Regions from separate parts of the Homo sapiens genome. Here region 1 is linked to region 2. The links are contacts of gene promoters, found by promoter capture Hi-C in human tissues and cell types (Jung and others, 2019). All regions are on one chromosome and are shown on one strand. The core of a region is centred on a gene start or on the middle of the fragment in contact, and the rest is flanking DNA. Distances in the headings are between cores, read along the strand shown.

Region 1 (4,848 bases), core at 187-2,686, 83 kb before region 2:
CTCCTTAGGGTTGGAGGCAGAGGTGGCATCAGGGGCTTCCCCACCATTTTGGGTGATGGAAGTGAGAGGCATTGTCGCCCTCAGCTGGGACTCAGCCAGACCTGCCAAGGTGTCTCTGATGACACAGACCATAAGGTCCGCTTCCTTCATAAAGGTCTTTCTGGGTGGTTCTCAGTACTGCTGCCCATCAGACCCACCAGAGCAGTTTAAACAGAAGAGGACCTCGCCCTAGAACTACTGAATCAAAATCCCCAGAAAGGGAAGCAGCCTGCGGGGAGTCAGTATAGTTTAAGAGCCCCAAGTGATTTGATTGCAGAGCAGAGAATGGAAAGCTCTGGCCTGGGCTGTGACTGTTCTCAAATGTGTGTTCACTTAAGAGCCAAATTTCTGGTGATTTCCTACTCACCAAATGATGGCACTGCAGTGGAAGGGCAGAAGGGTGTCTATTGCTTTTGCTGGGGATGGCCTTCGCTTTCCATCAACAATGAGATGACCCAGGCAGCAGAGCTGGGTTAGAAGTGGAAAACTTGAGCCCAGAGGTTAGAGGGAAGTGACCACCCACCCTGTTCATCCATCTCTTCCTTTCCATTATCGTCCCTGCCTAGAAGCGAAGACCAGTATTTCTGATGCCTGTTTGCCTCCAGACACCCCAGCAGCTCCTTGGGTAAAAAAAGTTGGGCAATTTAATCATCCCATCAGCCCTATGAGGAGATATGGGTGGCTAGAGGTCACTGGAGGCTTGCTTTTAGTAGACAGAAAATTTGAACCTGTGCTATGTTGACAACTCCACCCATAAATAAAGACACAGATCTTGGAGTGAGACAGAGTAGAGGACAGGGGGAGTGGTTGTTTTCCCCAAGGAAATCCTCCAAAGGTGGGGTGTATGCAGCTATGTTTTAGGTACCTATGTGGTGAAGATGGTGGGGATGGAAGGGGCTGAGTGGGAGGATAGGTCTGGTTCAGACTTGATCTATGTGCAGCTGAAACACGTGTGGCTGATTGTCAGACATGCAGTGGAGGTCAAAGTGGGGTCTCTTCTGTGCCTGCTCTCCTATAACCAAACCACAGCCCCTAGCTTCCTGCACCCCCGGTTTCTGTCCTCCTGAAATGAGAACTCACATTTGCCCTTGCACTGACATAAAGAACAGAGAGATAATCCTCAAAAGCCCAAAAGCAAACTGAGGTTCCAGGGAACATTGCCAGAGGCACCTGGACACTCACCTGGAGCACAGAGCAGAGTTTCTGCAGGGCTGCCCTCCCGTGCTCCGCCCCACTCAGGATGCAGGGAGGTGTGGGGATGTGACACTGATGGATGGCAGCAGCCCTGGCTAGGAAGGGAGGGCTGGAAGCCAGGCCTCATCACCTGCCAGATGCCCATGTGGGCAGGACCAGCCAGGCTCCCTAGGTACAAATAGCCCTGGGCTCCACGGCTCCACAGGCTCCCGGGGCTGAGTCTAAATCACTCATCATTGGTTAAAGCCGAGCTCACAGCAGAATAAGCCACCATGAGGCTGTCGGTGTGTCTCCTGCTGCTCACGCTGGCCCTTTGCTGCTACCGGGGTGAGTACATCAGTCATGAGTCCAGCACCAGCCCTTGGGACACACCCTTCTCTGAGCACGAGGTCACCTATTAAGGTTAAGGTTGGGGTCTGGAACAAACCAAAATTCCAAACCTTATCCTGTGCTTGTTGAAGGAACTGCTCATAAAGCTCGGGCCTCATTTCATCAAATCCCCAGTACCTAGGAAGTTTTGCAGAAAATCAATGCAGGCGAACGTTAGGAATTCTGCCTGAGCTTCACTCTTGGATGGGATCTGTGTCAGATGATGTAATGTGAGGTCTGGGGTGACTCTGGGCTCAGCCACTTCTCAGCCCTTTCACCGTGGGCAAGATGCTCACCCTCCCCGCGCCTCCTCCTATCTCTGGTGCTTAGAGCTTCTTCCGGGAGTGGCAATGGGAATGGAGTGGGATTATTGTGCCAAGGGTCTAGCTGTGGATGTGAAGCCAATCACTGTACTGTCAGACATTCTCGTCCCCAGACCTTTAGGTGCCAATTGAGCTCACAGCTTCTTACATTGTAAATTCAGACTCATAAAATGTTACATCTCGAAGGATCCTTGGAGAACTCTCAGTCCAAGAAGAGATGGTGCTTTCTGATTCTCTCAATAAGAAGCCTGCAAATGAATTCTTAGAATAAGCAGCACTCAATATATCTTCTAGGGGTCCTACCGTAATGGTGGTAGAAATACTACAATGGTTAGCCTCAGAACTTCTATTTTTCTAAAATTAATTCTGGCTGATTTTTCCCCAGTTCATTTGGGTACTTTCCTTTCCCCTGTCAGGACCGATCCAGACTCTGATTTTTCTCTTTCCTCTTCTTTTCTGAACCTCTCCCTGTTTCCCTGTGACACCCCGATCCTACCCTCTCCAAATTCTCCCCACAGTTTGAAGTCGGGTAGTCAGGGGTCATGTTGAGCATGGTGGGGCGCTTTCTGGATGCATGGTGTTTGCAAAAGACTTAGGTGAATGGAGATTCCAGACCAAGCAAAATGATTACTCCAGGTCTTTCCAAAATTCCCAGTGGGAGCAGGAATGAGCCTCAGTTCCCTCCTCTCATCCTCTCCAAATATTCTAGATGCTGCTGCAGAATATGGGCCAAGTACAATTTCCTGTATAAGCTTCTAATGTGTGTTAAAACTGATTCACATTATTTTATTTTGTTTTAATTTGTTTACCTTTTAGCTCTGTCTGTATTGAATCACATAAGCCTAAATTCTACAACTTGTTCTCAAAACATCACCTTCAACATTTCAATAATTTTAACTTCTTCTGTTCCAGATTTACTCATTTCTCTAATTTCTGATAGGATTCTGACTCTACCATTCCACTTCAAAATTTGATTACTCAAAGCCTCCTCTTCACCAATGTCCAAGACTAATAAAGTGTCACTTAACTGGCATAGAAAAGTGATTATTTTCAAATCTAGAAAAGAGAACGTTGGCCATCCATCCAGAGAAGCTTTGGAAAGTAATGAGTGTGCTTTAAAAAAAAAACAAAGACTGAATGAGTGATCAGGAAGTTGGTTCTCCAGTTCTAGCTCTACCCTTTGCTGTGTGACCTCAAGGAAGTCACAACCTCCTGGGTCTGACATTGTCATTGGCATAGTTATTGAATAGAAGCCTAAAACCCTGGGGTTCCTGTCTGGTCTGACATCAGGGAGGCATGGGAGAAACACTGATTTCCTTACACAAATTATATTTTTATTCTTTTGCTCCAGCAAATGCAGTGGTCTGCCAAGCTCTTGGTTCTGAAATCACAGGCTTCTTATTAGCTGGAAAACCTGTGTTCAAGTTCCAACTTGCCAAATTTAAGGCACCTCTGGAAGCTGTTGCAGCCAAGATGGAAGTGAAGAAATGCGTGGATACGATGGCCTATGAGAAAAGAGTGCTAATTACAAAAACATTGGTAATTTCTGTCTCTTTCATGTGTCCAGGCTTCTGGTCAGCGGCACAGTGTGAAGTGAGGTCAGCTTGCTTGCTGCTCTGTGAGGGACACAGGTGGTGGGGCACCTGCCTTACTGGTCACCGCTTGAGAAGGTCACCTGGGACCACAGGGTGGGTGCTACCATTTCACCTGCAGAATTCAACTCAGCTGCACACAGCCTCCTGCATGTTCCTCCTTCTCAGGTCACCTACCTGGATGCCGTGTCCCCAGAGTGTGCTGAGGACATGGGGAGTGAGCCTGGGTCCAGGCAGGGGTGGTGAAGGGCCAAGCACAACTGTCTCTCCACCTGGGGACTTTCCTGAGGCCAAGTGGACCTCACACAGTCACTGTGGAATGTACTGGGGAGTGTGGGAGCCTTGAACAGGGAGAAGAAGGCAGGGAGGGACCTAGAGCAGGGGCTCCTGCAGATGCTGCGCTGGAGGGCTGGACTTCTCTGCAGCTTCTGCAGAACCAGGAAGGAGCCCCTCCCAGCTCCTCAGACTCCACGCTCCCCTCCTCACCCACGATGCTCTCCTGACCACGGCCAGTGGGCCAAGACCCTCGCTACTCTACCTCCTGCAGTGCCATGGAAGCGGGATGTTCTCACTCTGTCTTTCTCAAGAAATCAGAGGTTTTCCAGGGGCCTCTCAGCCTGGCTGCCTCTGGGTTGCTGTCCTGAGGTTTAGCTGCAAATGCTCATGGAAGCTGCAGGCTCAGGATTGAGGTGCTCAGGCCCTGAGGCAGAATTCCCACATGGGGAGGCTGGAGTCTCCTGGAAGCCAAGCTTCCCAGAGGCCCTCCCAGCCCTGACCAACCTCTCAGCACTGGGTCTTTCATTGCGGGGAACAGGAGACTCCAAGTCCTGGGACAGCCCAGACAATAACCTCTTGCTGCTCTGCTCTGTCCCCCCTCTATGAGGACCCTGGGCCTTATGCTTGTGTCCCCCCAGGGCTATTGGCCTGGCAAGGAAAGGCTGGTCTAGGTCTAGGCCCTGGTTTCCCACACACACTGGGTTCCTGCCTCTACCCTTCAATTGTCTTTGGGAGCAGAATTCCATCGGCCACTTGGATGTTAACCTGTTGTCTCCAGGAGCTGCATGACCGACCTCACCTTCCTTTCTTTCCTTTTCTATTTCAGGGAAAAATAGCAGAGAAATGTGATCGCTGAGATGTAAAAAGTTTTTAATGCTAGTTTCCACCATCTTTCAATGATACCCTGATCTTCACTGCAGAATGTAAAGGTTTCAACGTCTTGCTCTAATAAATCACTTGCCCTGAACTTCTCCACTGGTCGTGTTATCCTGCAGTCTTGGGCCTTGAGTTGAGAGTGGTTTCCATAGGGGAGTGGCCTTTGGCTGACAATCAAC
Region 2 (4,215 bases), core at 1,659-4,158:
CACCACACTTGGCCTAAGATACTTGGAAATCTTCTGTGATGCTCTGAATGGTAATAGTGAAGCATCGTATGATTTTGAACCAAAGAAGACCAAATAATCTTCACGATATACTTCCAAGTCCGAGTGTTTCATTTCTCAAGTCTTCTCATTAAATGAAGTTTCATGAGGTTTAGCTTTTCTGGGCTGGGGAGTGGAGAGAAAGAAGTTGCAGGGCTTACAGGAAATCCCAGAGCCTGAGGTTTTCTCCCAGATTTGAGAACTCTAGATTCTGCATCATTATCTTTGAGTCTATATTCTCTTGGGCTGTAAGAAGATGAGGAATGTAATAGGTCTGCCCCAAGCCTTTCATGCCTTCTGTACCAAGCTTGTTTCCTTGTGCATCCTTCCCAGGCTCTGGCTGCCCCTTATTGGAGAATGTGATTTCCAAGACAATCAATCCACAAGTGTCTAAGACTGAATACAAAGAACTTCTTCAAGAGTTCATAGACGACAATGCCACTACAAATGCCATAGATGAATTGAAGGAATGTTTTCTTAACCAAACGGATGAAACTCTGAGCAATGTTGAGGTGTTTATGGTAATTTCATTTTCTTCCTATAAGCTTTTTAAATCCCCTGACCAGGGACAAGTGGGCTCTTCATTTCTCACTGACAATGCCAAAGCCACTAGTGAACAAGCCTTTTCTTACATTGGTTAATTTAGTTGAATGGTTAGTCTAATGACTTTGCCATCAAGAAAAACATCCAGTGTCCCTGTGTTGTCACTCTACCCAGAGAATCCTCAGTGGATGATAAATGAATAGGGCAAGAGAGGAAAAGGAAAGGTCGGTAGAAGTCTTACCTATCCCCAGAGCTCTCTAATTCATGCTCACAAACACAGACACAATCACACAAACACAGAAACACACATACACACATCCAGACACATGCAAACACACAGACACAGTCACAATCACACAAACACACACACATTCAGACATACACAAACATAGACAGACAGGCAAAGACACAGACACAGACACAGACACAATCACACCAGCACACAATCATCCAGACACAAACACAAACACACAGACAGAACCACACAACCACAGAAACACAGAGACACACACAAACACACTCAGACACACACATACAAACATATGTTCACTCTCTACAGAAAAAACAATTTTCCAGAAGACCCGCACCTATAGACCAATCTGCAGAGAAAACTTCTCTTCTTCAAAAAAAAGTAAAAGTGTTCTTTCTTAAAAAATGCCCTATTTTTCAACAGTTTGGAAAATACCATTTGAGCAAGATTCTATACATCTCAAATAAAAAGAATTTAAAATGCACTTCCAGGCAATCATAATTTGCTAGCATAAATGATGAGAAACCTTGGACTATCCAATAGGCAACTGTAGATCATGGGTATGAAACCACCATGGAGGAAGAATTGCCTCAAACAAAAACCAATAGTTTTGTATTTCTTTCTAACTATACATGTATATTGTTGAGGGTTTTCTTTAGCATTTATTCCCTATGTTAAATTCTTCTTTAATCCTTCCCTGGTAAAAAAAAAAAAAAAAAAAAAGTTAGAAATATACCAAACCCCTCCATTAGGATGAAAGTGAACATCACCTCAGGAAACCCTGACGCTTTCTACAACATGGATGAACCTTGAGGATATTATAGCGAGTGAAGAGTGAAGCAAAGAGTCACAAAAACACAAATGCTGCATGACCCATGCATATGGGAATCTGGGGAGCCAGACTCAGAGACAGTGAAAAAAAAAAAAACAGTGGTTGTCAGGGCTTGGGTGCAGAGAAGAAGGGGGAGTCATATTTAATGGGTCTGGAGTTTCAGTTGTGCAAAACAGTAATATTCTGGAGTTAGGTTGCACAACCACACGAATATACAGAACACTCCGAACTGTCCCCTTAAAATGGCAAATTTTATGAGATGTACATTTTACCACTATTAATAATTTGTTAAAAACTAATTATCAACTGCAGGGAAGGGTGATGGATTTGTTTCTTTAAAAGCTTCCTCAGACAGATCATAGTCTGCAGCTCCAATAATTAGTAGAGCACAATGGTGGTGGCAGAGGGCGTCGGACTGCTGGGATGCTGGGAATATTTCCACAATGGAGGGTTAGACGAGAGCTCAAAGTTTCACTTTTTTTTTTTTTTTTTTTTTTGCATTTGAGCTAAGATTTTAACAATCCTGTGAAAATAGGTAATATAGTCACGTATTTGTTGAATACATTATTTCAAAGAACCACAAACACACAGAAAAAATATTTAAAAAGTCCATGGTGGGGGAAATGATCCAGAAACAACAGCTCTTCTACTTCCAGCCCTAACCGTCTGGGATGCTAGATGGTTGTGGGCAAACCGTGGAAAAAGATAAGCTTCTGTTTTTCAAGATTTTATTTTGTTAGAGAGTGCAGAAAATCTAAGTGATGTCTCTGTTTTTGCTTTCTAGCAATTAATATATGACAGCAGTCTTTGTGATTTATTTTAACTTTCTGCAAGACCTTTGGCTCACAGAACTGCAGGGTATGGTGAGAAACCAACTACGGATTGCTGCAAACCACACCTTCTCTTTCTTATGTCTTTTTACTACAAACTACAAGACAATTGTTGAAACCTGCTATACATGTTTATTTTAATAAATTGATGGCAAAAACTGAAGTTTCTCTTTGTTCTACCGTAGAAAAGAGGCGTTAGAGGGCCTCACATATTTTACATACACACACACACACACTTACTTATTAAAGAACTCATGGTCATGGGTTGAGGACTCTGTGAAGCATTTGTTTCCTCAGTCTGACCTCTAAGCCTTGGTACTCTCTCTGAAGAGTGTTTCCCTGTCCCCATCCCACCACCTCCCCCGTCGACTCTCTCTGGAGTCCTCAGGCTCTGGGATGTGAGGCAGGGTTTCACTCAGAGGACCTGCTTTCACTCCAGTCCTCCCATCCACGCTGAGCCCTGCTGGCCATGTCAGGCTTCTCTGCGCTGTCTCTGGGCCTCCCCGAGATGTGCAGGGCCTGGGCCAGAGCCAGCCAGGGAGAGGAGTCCTGCAAAGCAGGGTGGCACCTGACTGGGTTTAAATTTTGTAATTTTTACTCATCATGGATGTTGGCTTCAGTTTAATTTATAAACTACTACAGGAAAATATTATTTTTAACCATATTATGTTATTATTTGAATCCTATGCAATATGACTACTGAGTTTAACAGTACCCCTATTAAGATTTTCAATGTCCTCTAGTCCTGTGCCTGTGGTGGGACTGGGGTCCATCCTCCGCTGTCCCGCAGTGAGCTGCAAAGGCAATGAGGGTTGAGGGGAGTGAGTGTGCTGTGCAGGGACCCAGCACAGCAGGGGATGTTTACATGGAACCTGGAGTCTCTTTCATGTCCTGTCCCCAGCATTCCTGTCACCAGGGGCAGTTATTGCCACCTGTTCTGCTTCTACCTCAGCCTGTCCCTCTTCTTTCTGAGGCTATCCCCTTGTAAGGTTTTTGTATCGGCTCGAACCCCAAGAACATACCAACAGACAACACGAGGCAGTGTGGAGCAACATGCTGTTTTAATGAGCGCCTGGAAGCAGGAGGGCTGAGGCCTAAAGTGGCATCAGCCTTAAGTGAGGATGGTGCAAAGGTTTTATAGTCTCCTGTAAACAGGAAGTGTCCTAGTCTGATGTAACTGCTATGTTATATCTGGATGGCCTCTTTCTCCGTCTTCAGGGGTATGTGTCTTCCGGCCGGCTCTCTTCCTGCTTCTGCTATCTTGCTGGTGCACCCCACTAGCACAAGTAGCCTTGTGCCTTGGGACTGAGCCTGAGAAGTGGGGAGCTCATCTCCTTAAGCTTTCAGGCCCTGGGGAGAATTTTACATTGCTGTCTATTTGGTTATGGAAAAAGGACGACTTTCTCAATAACCACTTCAGGTGTGACATGGGGTGGCATGGGCACCTTGGAAAAAGAAAAACTTAATTTTGGGGCTATTCTTGAGAGACAGGTTGGTATCCACCATGTCATTGTAGCAGGAGCATCATCTGGATTGTCTGGAAAGGTGTCTGTGCCTGCAAAACAGTTATGTTGAGAGGACAAGGAGGTGTCAACAGGGAGAGGCATGGCCTCATTTGCTGCTTCACGAATGAAAGACCATGTCTGGATTAAGAAGGGGAATAATTCCTGAGTGGCTCAGAGTCTGGTAAGGGTGGAGGCCCC

Evidence for each region. Contacts are between HindIII fragments. The study calls those that stand out against the background at their distance.
Region 1: the fragment with the promoter of SCGB1D1 here is called in contact with a fragment that was not itself captured in region 2 in 2 of the 25 tissues and cell types used here (liver and neural progenitor cells).

What each region holds. Positions count from the first base shown.
Region 1 is chr11:62,188,780-62,193,627 of GRCh38, forward strand. SCGB1D1 (secretoglobin family 1D member 1) reads left to right here and starts at 1,437. Exons shown (of 3, transcript NM_006552.2): 1 at 1,437-1,560; 2 at 3,277-3,464; 3 at 4,620-4,760. The coding sequence starts at 1,506. The coding sequence ends at 4,649. RefSeq lists an enhancer at 3,491-3,991. The HindIII fragment of the contact is 12,490 bases long and covers 1-2,847 here.
Region 2 is chr11:62,270,491-62,274,705 of GRCh38, forward strand. It overlaps SCGB2A2 (secretoglobin family 2A member 2), which reads left to right. Exons shown (of 3, transcript NM_002411.4): 2 at 391-578; 3 at 2,467-2,670. The coding sequence ends at 2,505. Among named protein-coding and RNA genes, the nearest start is that of SCGB2A2, 2.4 kb to the left of the region's middle. The HindIII fragment of the contact is 3,190 bases long and covers 1,314-4,215 here.